Regions from separate parts of the Homo sapiens genome. Here region 2 is linked to region 1. Evidence: promoter capture Hi-C in 16 types of primary human blood cells and fetal thymus (Javierre and others, 2016). All regions are on one chromosome and are shown on one strand. Each heading gives the region's core, a stretch centred on a gene start or on the middle of the fragment in contact. The rest is flanking DNA. Distances are from core to core; before and after follow the strand shown.

The links. The method cuts DNA at HindIII sites, captures the fragments that hold promoters and counts their contacts. A CHiCAGO score of 5 or more calls a contact.
Region 2: a contact is called between a fragment that was not itself captured here and the fragment with the promoter of EIF2D in region 1, in 3 of 17 cell types (fetal thymus, endothelial precursors and total B cells). The highest score is 7.2, in fetal thymus.

What each region holds. Positions count from the first base shown.
Region 1 is chr1:206,609,296-206,614,633 of GRCh38, forward strand. It overlaps EIF2D (eukaryotic translation initiation factor 2D), which reads right to left and starts at 3,170. Exons shown (of 15, transcript NM_006893.3): 1 at 2,992-3,170; 2 at 1,889-2,079; 3 at 81-164. The coding sequence starts at 3,047. RefSeq lists enhancers at 253-352, 393-452, 2,863-2,932 and a silencer at 3,223-3,432. The HindIII fragment of the contact is 3,738 bases long and covers 2,071-5,338 here.
Region 2 is chr1:207,496,900-207,501,878 of GRCh38, forward strand. All of the region lies in intron 1 of CR1 (complement C3b/C4b receptor 1 (Knops blood group)), which reads left to right. Among named protein-coding and RNA genes, the nearest start is that of CR1, 3.2 kb to the left of the region's middle. RefSeq lists an enhancer at 2,661-2,720. The HindIII fragment of the contact is 209 bases long and covers 2,750-2,958 here.

The DNA of each region.
Region 1 (5,338 bases), core at 1,920-4,419:
AATGGGTAAGTTTATTACATCAGTTGGCTTTTGCTAAGTAGGTTTCAGCCAATAGCCAGAATATAGGAGAATCCTCTTACCTGCTCCCCCTACCAGTTTCTCGAGCACCAGAGGCCATGTTGTAAAGGTTGGCAGAAGATCAGGATAGGACCACAGCGTGTACACTGTACAAAAAGAGATCCAGAAAACACTACTACCAAAAAGCCAATCTTCTAGAGAAATGGAAAAACCTAACACTATGGTCACTTTAATTAGAATACAGGAAAGAAACTCAACTCAAAGCTAAAGAGAAGGTTGTAAGGGGATGCCCAGAGAGGTTTCATTTTTGAGGAAGGAAAAAACCTAAGAAACTGAGTGTCACTTGAGATTTGGAGGCATCCGGATTGCAGCAGCAGAAAATGGTCACAGTGGACAAAAAAGTGAGGGCAGAGAACCAATGAAGCTTTTATTTACGGCTTCAGAAGCAAGTAGCCTAAGAACAGGAAGCCAGCTGTATAAAATTTGGAAACTTTCCCATGTTTATCATTTTTATCCCCTCTGTTTCCATAGTGATTAGCAGCAAAAACCCCTAGGTCAAAAAGCATTGTGGTTGTCTTCAGGTACAGCAAGGAAGTGAGATCAGGGGCAGGAGTGGCCTAAGGATATTGCATTGCACTATTGCAGACAACCCTGGAGGATGAAAAGCCCCAAGTTACAAAGTAGGTGTCAGCAGCTATGGAAAAGAGAAAAGGAGACTGAGTCCCTGAGATTTGTGACAGAGAAGGCAAAGAATCCTAGAGAGCCACTCATAGCCTAAAAAATCCCTGTGAGACCTATGGTTAAAGTACACCATGAAAACAGCTGGATATGTAGCTTATCAATCCAGCTTTATTCCTATCACAGTATATCTTTTCAGTATTTTAGGAAAATCCTGCTACAGATAGTTTTAAGAAACATTTTTTAGGCTGGGCACCCTGCTCATGCCTGTAATCCCAACACTTCGGGAGACTGAGGCAGGAAAATCACTTGAGCTCAAGAGTTCAAGACCAGCCCGAGCAACATAGTGAGACCTTGTCTCTACCAAAAATTTTAAACGTAGCCAGACATGGTGGCATATGCCTGTAGTCCCAGCTACACAGGAGGCTGAGGTGGGAGGATCCCTTAAGCACAGGAGGTTGAGGTTACAGTTAGCTACGATCACACCACTGCACTTCAGCCTGGGTGACAGAGTAAGACCTTGTCTCTAAAAAATATATATATTTTTGGCCAGGCGCGGTGGCTCACGTCTGTAATTCCAGCACTTTGGGAGGCCGAGGCGGGCGGATCATGAGGTCAGGAGATCAAGATCATCCTGGCTAACATGGTGAAATCCCGTCTCTACTAAAAAATGCAAAAAATTAGCAAGGTGTGGTGGCGGGTGCCTGTAGTTCCTGCTACTCGGGAGGCTGAGGCAAGAGAATGGTGTGAACCCAGGAGGCGGAGCTTGCAGTGAGCTGAGATTGCGCCACTGCACTCCAGCCTGGGCAACAGAGCAAGACTCTGTCTCATGAAGACATGCCCTGAAATTCCATCCTTTTCAAGACCTCTGCTCTATTCCTAGTCAACCCACTGTAAACTTCTCAGCCACTGTTCCTTCATCTCAGAACTTCCCTTTGCAACCACCCTTACTTACTATGTCAGCCCTTTTTTTAATCCCTCCTATAGTGGTTTTGCATAAGAGAAAACCTTTTGCATCCTAGAATTGAAAGACCCAATTCTAGGAACACCAGGTCCATAAAGATCCTTGGGGATGGTATTGGGAGATTTCGTGCTTGCTTATTTTATGGGAGACAATGGAAGAAACAGAGAGAAGCAGATGTTAGGCAAGAACTACCTAATGGTAATGGCCATCTTCGTCCTGTTGTCATACCTGTTGGATACAGATTTTTCTCCAGTTCAAAGAGGATGGGGTTACCACCACTCACGTACACAGTCACTGCATCCCCTTTGTGAGCATACAACTTCACAATGTTGAGCTCCTCCTTTCCAGGTACTAACTCAGAGACTTGATCAGTTCCAAGGGTGGGGAAAGCAGTTGTCACATCAGCTCGAAGCTTTCTCCTGTGGAAAGCACACCAGCACTGTGAATGCTGCCTGGACAGACTTTTAATAAATATCAAGAACGAACTCAAAAGTGCTCACTATAAAATCACAAGGGCCAAAGAAAGATTGCCTGGTTTATGATGTCCTAGTCTCACACACACTCTTCTGAAACATCCTAAACTCTTTTTCATCCATTGTCATCTATTTTCACTCATTCCTGGGGTATGCCTTCCCATTTTATGGGTGGGAAAACAGGCCCAGTGAACAATCCAAGTTAGCCTGACACAGGAAACAGCCCTGCCTTCCTGACTTCATGCCTAGCCCTTGGGCCCACTCCTTTCTCATACATGCTTCGCAAATATGCCAGTTTATGATTAAATAACTATGCCATGAGACCTATAGACAACTATAAAGCACTGGTTACAAAATTCCAAACACAATCTCCATTTGTGACCCTGTCTGAACAGATACAGTTCTTCTTACCACATGTGCCTTATTCCCTCCCACCTCAGTTTCCAGCTGTCTCTCCTGCCAGAATTAATCACTAGTCATTTTTTTCTCTTATACTTTTAATTCTTGGTATCCCATCCGATCTCTCCCAAGGGGCATTAAGCTCTTTGGAGGGCAAGAATTCTGTATTCCTTCACTTCTGCATTCTCCACAACACCTTAAATAGTCTGCAGTCAGTAAACTCTGACTTAACTACGTTTTCTTTTAAACTCACTAGACTATCCAAAAGAGAGCCAGGTCCCCCTCCATCCTCACCTCAAAATGTGTCTAACCCACCCTTGCCTCCTGGGGTCCCTTCCCTGGCATACCCCTCGGCCTCCACCCGAGGATGTCGGCCAAGAATAGCGAGGGCTATGGGCCAGCGGGGCCCAAGAGGTGTCTGGTTGTTCCGTGGCAGAGCAGGCCCCTTTCCTCCCTCACCTGTCCGACCCCTTGATGGCCGTGTTGGACTTGACCCGAAAGGCCTTGGCAAACATGTCTGCTGGGGTGGCCTGGGGAAGAGAGCACAGAAGCCAGGGAATGTCAAGAAAGCGAGGGCGCAGCAGCTGCCAGGCCCTCAGCCGTGGGGGCAGCCATGCTGGGGCCCGGCCGCGAAAAGGGCCCGGCTGGAAACCAGGGCCGCGCAGCTTCGTGGCCGTTGCCGCTGGGGAGGCCGCGGCCGCCCCCAGTGGCGGTACCTGGAACTAAAGCAGGGCAGGGAGGGGCAGGGCCCAGGGAACGCCCCTCCCCCCCACCTTCCCATCCCCTCGCGGGCCTGGCTCTGCGCCTGCGCGAGCGGCTCGGGTTCCCCGTCCGTAGCGACTCGGCCACGCCAATAGCTGTTCTGTTTATTTCCTTCCACCCCATCAACCTTAGGAACTGCTTTGAGTAGAAGCTCTCTGCAAGCTCCCATTCCATTCGGTTCGGTTCAATTCCGCAAAAATAATTGAACTGATAAACAGTTCAGGCTTCGGCCGGGCGCGGTGGCCCAAGCCTGTTATCCCAGACTTTGGGAGGCCGAGGCGGGCGGACCGCTTAAGCCCAGAAGTTCGAGACCAGCCTGGGCAACATGGCGAAACCCCATCTCCATAAAAAATACAAAATAAAAAAAAAAAAAAAAAAAAAAAAAAAGAAAGAAAGAAAGAAAGAAAAAGAATTGGGAGGCCGAGGTGGGCGGATCACCTGAGGTCGGGAGTTCGAGACCAGCCTGATCAACATGGAGAAACCCTGTCTGTACTAAAAATACAAAATTAGCCGGGCATGGTGGAGCATGCCTGTAATCCCAGCTACTCGGGAGGCTGAGGCAGGAGAATTGCTTGAACCCGGGAGGCAGAGGTTGTGGTGAGCCGAGATTGCACAATTGCACTCCAGCCTGGGCAACAAGAGTGAAAGTCCGTCTCAAAAAAAAAAAAAAAAGAAAAGAAAAAAGAAAAATTCAGCCGGGTGTGGTGGCGCATGCCTGGGGAGGCTAAGGCGGTAGGATCGCTTGAGCCCAGGAGGCAGAGGTTGCCGTGAGCCGAGATTGTGCCACTGCACCCCACCTTGGACAACAGAGTAAGACTCCGTATCAAAAAAATCAAACAAACAAACAAAAAAACCTCGAGGGCTTTTTGAATATTTTTCTTTATTTTATTTTATTTTGTTTACTTGGAGACAGGGTCTCGCTGTGTCACCCAGGCTGGAGTGCAGTGGCGCAATCTCAGCTCAATGCAGCCTCCACCTCCCGGGCTCAAGCGATCCATCCGCTTCAGCCTCCCGAGTAGCTGGGACTACAGGCGGGCACCACCACACCAGGCTAATTTTTGTATTTTTTGTAGAGACAGGATCTCACCTTGTTGCCCAGGCTGGTCTCAAACTCCTGAGGTCAAGAGATCTGTCCGCCTCGGCCTCCCAAAGTGGTGGGATTACAGGACAGGTGTGAACCACCAAGTCGGGCCTAAATGTTTTTCTTAAAGGCATTCTATGATTAAGGTCTATTCATTGTACTATAAGCTAGAAGCCTCAGCTAGAATTTTCTGTAAGATTTTTCTCATCCCGGATTTTTAGTTTACTTGGGTGGTAATAACAGTAATAGAGAATTCACTGTTGTCCCAGATTTGTCCCAAAGTCACACAGGCAGGGAAGAGAAATTAGGTTTTCCTCAAAGGGACAGCTGTGTTCCCTGGAGACAAGGATTTAAACACCCGGAATCCTGGCTCTTCGTAAATTAAGTCTTGCATATTAAAATTACATTAAGCAATTTAAGTAATAAAAGTAAATTATGTTTTGCATATTAAAACTTCCAAGTGTCCATTCACCAATAAAAAATCCCAATTGATTCAGTGACGCAGTTGCACAAAGGAGAATTCCACACTGGCTTTCTAAACATTAGGCCTTCTACAATGTTTGCCCACCACCTATAGTGGCCTAGGGACCAGCCCCAACTCCTCCTAAACCTGTGACCCACTAGGCCTTTATTCTGAAGTATCCCAGCCACCAGGCCAATGTCAAAGGAGCCCAGAGGAGGACAGTGCCTACAACAGACCCCTGTACCCACCCTTCACCTCCCACTTAGCCACTCTTCGGATGTGCAATACATTTGGGGTCTTTTGCAGCACAGCTGCTGAGGAAGCCTCTTTCTTAGGGAACAGAGGAAAGCTATTCAGAGAATACTAAACATTTTAAGCTAGGGGAACTTTTGTATACCAGATGTCCTTGGATAAGAAAACATCAATTGTAAACCTAAAAATTAATTAGTGGTTGACAAGTAGGAGCCAAGACCCCAGAGGATTCTGCACCATGGCATCCA
Region 2 (4,979 bases), core at 1,604-4,103, 890 kb after region 1:
TCTAACACAGGGCTATGTGTCCCCGAGTCCATTTCTATCCCCCAACCGTTACCTCTGTACTTTGCTCCCAATGGTGTTTAGACAAGCAGTCCTAGGGATGCAGGTGTTACCTGACAACTGCCCCGCATGGAACTGTCCTCGCCCCCCACACCAAGCCACCACGGCCATCATCACCATGCACTTAATTGACAGCATACTTTAAGACAGATGCATGCCAGGCACTTGCGGATTAGAAGAGCAAGGGAAGCCCCAGAACATGCAATGTAACCGTTGCAGGTAGAAGGGACAGTAGATATGTTTACAGTTCGCATTTTAGTGATGTGTTTAGTACAAAATAACGCCTATTATAATTATTATGGAAATTTTGAGGCCACATCTCTTCCTTTTTCTTAACTTCAAATAGGTAAACATCTTCAGTTAGAACCCTTCTATTATTATTTTTCGGCTCCCCAGAAGTCTTCTTGGTTGCCTAGACTCACTGGCAACATCTCATTTGAAGTGACAGTCTTGGTTGTTTTTGTCCAGCCTATTCCTGACAACTCCGGGTTCGCCCTTCTCTGCCACTAGACATTTTACATTCATTATTTGAGTGTTCCTTCTTCTCTAAAAGAGTAAATAAAATAAAATAAAGTAGAACCAAGTCCCGCAAGAGTTGTTATTAATATTTGATCTCCTTAGGCACCAGAAAGTAACCTGTCAGGTGCAGAGATGTGATAAAACGTACAATCTTATTTTTAGGAGAGAAGCATGCCCAGTAAGTTAAGCAATCTGTTGTCAACGCTTAGGAATTTGTGTCATCTTTGGGAGTACTGGCCCTCTTCTTACTAGAATGTTGTTTTACTTAGCCTATGTTGATTAAGTTACTGTTATAAACAATCCCAGACACTATTAATTGCAAAAAAAAAATTTACTGAGGTTATCACAATAACTTCCAAATGTGAAACAGCCTAAACTAAACTACCTAGAAATTTTGTTGCTGACATAATTTAAATTTTAAAATGCTGATGGATGCTTCCAGTGTGCACGGTCCTTTGGAATTTTAAAGAAGTATAAGAGCTCTGCACCCAAAGTGTATGCATATAGAAGTAGGTGGTGGAGTTTTATGAAATCTACTTATTAGGAAGCCAGCGTTCTGCTTTTTCCAGCCTCTGCTACTTACCAGCTGGTGTCTTGGACCCAGTAAGTTAAGTCACATCACTGACCTTCAGTGTCCACATGTATAAAATGAGCACAACTGACATCCTGATCTCTGAGAGAGACGTTTTGAAAATCAGATGGTGTAATGCATGTGACAGTGTTTTGTAATCTGAAAACCCCCATGCATGTCTGAAAAACCATGACTAAGAAGTCGTGCAAGACTGCAGGATCACCGAAAAGCGAGAAATCTCAACTCCTATGATCAGGAAAGGATGAGTGAAAGGTATATGGCTTTACTAGCACTTAAAGAGTGAATCTAGAAACAGATTGCATACGACAAAAAATAGCAGAGGAGCTAGGATTGTTTTGTTATTATGAGTTACTCACAGTACCCGTAAAGTGGTATAGTGCTATTTGAAAGAGGACTTAGATTAGCTGCAAATAGATATTGCAAATGTAGGACAACCCCTGAAAAATGTGAAAAAAAGAACTATAATTTATATGTTAATAAGTAAGAGAGAATTGCATCATATAAAATGCTCAGTTAAAACAATAAAGATGGCTGGGGACAGTGGCTCATGCCCATAATCCCAGCACTTTGGGAGGCTGAGGTGGGTGGATCACCTCAAGTCAGGAGTTCAAGACCAGCCTGGCCAACATAGTGAAACCCTGTCTCTACAAAAACACAAAAATTACCAGGGCATGATGGTGGGTGCCTGTAGTCCCAGCTACTCGGGAGGCTGAGGCATGAGAATCGCTTGAACCTGGGAGGCGGAGGTTGCAGTGAGTCGAGATCGTGCCATTGCACTCCAGCCTGGGTGACAGAGCGCAACTCCAAATCAAAAAAAAAAAAAAAAGAAACAAACAAACAAAACAAAAAACAATAAAGGGCAGGAAAAGAATGGAAGACAAAAAATAGAAACAGAGAACAAGAGAAAAAAAGCAACAAATAAAAACCAGTAACAAAACTAAAGCAACTATATCAACAATCATTTTGAGTGTCAATGATCGAAATGCACCATTTGAAACAGATCATCAGAGTGGATCAAGAAACAAGACCCAACTATATACTGTGTACAACAAGACCGTTTTAAATATAGACAATATATATGAAAAGTAAATGGATAAAGATATACCATGCTAATGCTAGTCACAGAAAGCAGGAATAGCTGTGTTAATTTCAAACACAGCAGACTTCAGACCAAGAAAAATTATTAGGGATAAAGAGGGGCATCATATAATGATAAAGGGGCCAATTATCCAAGAAGACGTAACAATATCCCATATGTATGCACCTGATGGAGAGACAAAATACGTGAGGCAAAACCCATAGAACTGCAAGGAGAAATAGATGGATTTACTATCATAGTTGGAGACTTCTATGATATCTTTCTGATATCAGAAAAGGTGCTGAAGTCTCCTTATCAGAAATGGGCAGATTCAGCAGGCAGAAAATCCGTAAGGACATACTTGAATTCAACAGCACCATCAATCCACTTGGGTATAATTGACATATATAGATGACTTCATCCACAACAGCAGAGCACATATTCTCCCGCTTACATTCATGGGGATAGACCACATTCTGAGCCATAAAATAGTACACGAATTAAGCTTTACCAGGCAGTGTTTAATATAGGGTGGACTCTGGCGCCCTCACGTGGTCCTCATATAGGATCTGGTTTGGTTATCCCTGCTAGGTAAAGGTGCAAGATAGAAGGGAAGTTCCAATTTGCTTTCTGTGCTTTGTGGTGTATTTTGGTTTACATATGCTCAGATGAGTGGATGTGTGATTTATATTATCTATTTTAATCTAAAATAAGCTTCACATTTGGACAGGTAACATCAAAAGTGTCCTACACAGAAATGCTGGGTGAAGATCCCAGTAATAAAACCAACTCCAGAAAACAAGAAAATGGTAGAGTTGACAATCCCTCTCACCCTCTCCGCAAAGACACATGTATACACATTTTTTGTCAGAGGCATTAAGTAGAAGAAATGCTGTCAGTCTAATCACAACTGATCACAACTCGATGAAACCAAAAAACCTAGAAAGTATCATGAAGACTGTCGAAATAAGCTTTACATTCACTATTGTGAACAGAGAGACTCAATGTGACTGTTTTTTGTCCCGTTAGATGTTAGCTAATGATTGTGCTAAGTCATGATGATTAACAAAGCATTTAAAATATTTATTTTATCTGTGTTACATTTCAAAAATTTATATTGAGGCATATAATTTATGTTCGTGTACATATATAATTTATAAATTTATATATTTGAAAGGGCATGCTCTTTTTTTAAACTGATAGAGGTGCCTAAGCAAAGCAAGTGCAAATCTATTCCTTAAAGGGTAAGTATGCAGAATGGAAAGCAGAGTGTTCTTTGGGTTGACAGCTCATATTGCAACAGACATGAAAGTGATGATGTGTTAATTGTGCATATAGCACAGAATACATCAACTTGCTTTGAATGGAATATCTGAACCAGGAGAATGTGAAAGTGGGCTGAGTCATACAAGACAAAACCCGAAATGAGATAACAATACATACCCACTAGAATGACTAAAATGAAAAAGATTGACCGAGCCAAGTGTTGGCGATAAGGTGGAGTAACTGGAATTATAATATACTGCTATTTGGCAGGTAAAATTATAACATTAACTTTAGAAAATAGTTCAACAGATTCTTAAAACCTTAGACACACACTCAACATTTTACTCTTAGGTTTTTACCCAAGAGAAATGAAATCATATGTCCACACAAAGACTTGTACATGAATTTTCATAGCAGTTTTGTTTGTAATAGCCAACACGTGGAAACAATCCAAATGTCCCTCAACAAGTAAATGGATAAACTAAATTAAGATATATTTATGCAATTGAATATTACCCAGCAACTAAAGGAAACAATTTGTATACATGCAGCAACCTAGATGGATCTCTAATTATGCTGTGTGAAGGCTAAACCATAAAAAAAAACCTGAGTGATTTCCTTTATACAATAGGATATAAATGAAGTGATTTAGGTTATATGAAATTTTAGAAAGTCAAATCAATCTGTAGTAAGAGAAAACCACCTGAGTTATTTCCTTTATATGATAGGATATAAACGAAGTGATTCGGGTTATATGAAATTTTAGAAAGTCAGATCAATCTGTAGTAAGAGAAAACACATTGAAGGTTGCCTAGAGAAGGAAGTGGATGTTTGGATGGATTACAGAAGGGCATGAGGGAACTCTGTGTGGGTGGGATGTATGATGGAAACGTTTATTGTCTTCATTTTGGTGATGGTTTCACAACGCATACATATGTTATAAGTAATCGAATTGTACACTTCAAATACTCATCAATCATTGTATGTAATATATCTTGATAAAGCTATAAAAACTTTTAAAATTATGGTAGGTCTTCAGTTTGTGGATTTTATATTAATATATTTGTCATAGGAACTAGTCACAATTGAGGGATTGGTAATAAAGGAGAGAAAGGAAACTACATCAAGCTTTCTTTGTTGAAGGCTCATATATTCCTTTTTTGAGCTATTATACAACTTTGCTTTTTATAATTACCTATACTATTCATATACTACTATGCAGGTAAGAATATTATGTAATTAAGGGGAAGGAACTTCTTTCCAAGAATGGTTCATTCAATTTGCTTTGTTACTTTAGGTCTCATTCCTTCCTCTCGTTGCAAGCTTTGCTGTGACATTTACCCTCTCTCAATACAGCTTTTGGCGCTAGGCACTTCACATGGAATCTCTTCCTTTGTCCGGCATCAATGGATAAGACAAATATCAAAATTGTATTTCATCCCACATATCAACTAGAGGAAAGGTGAA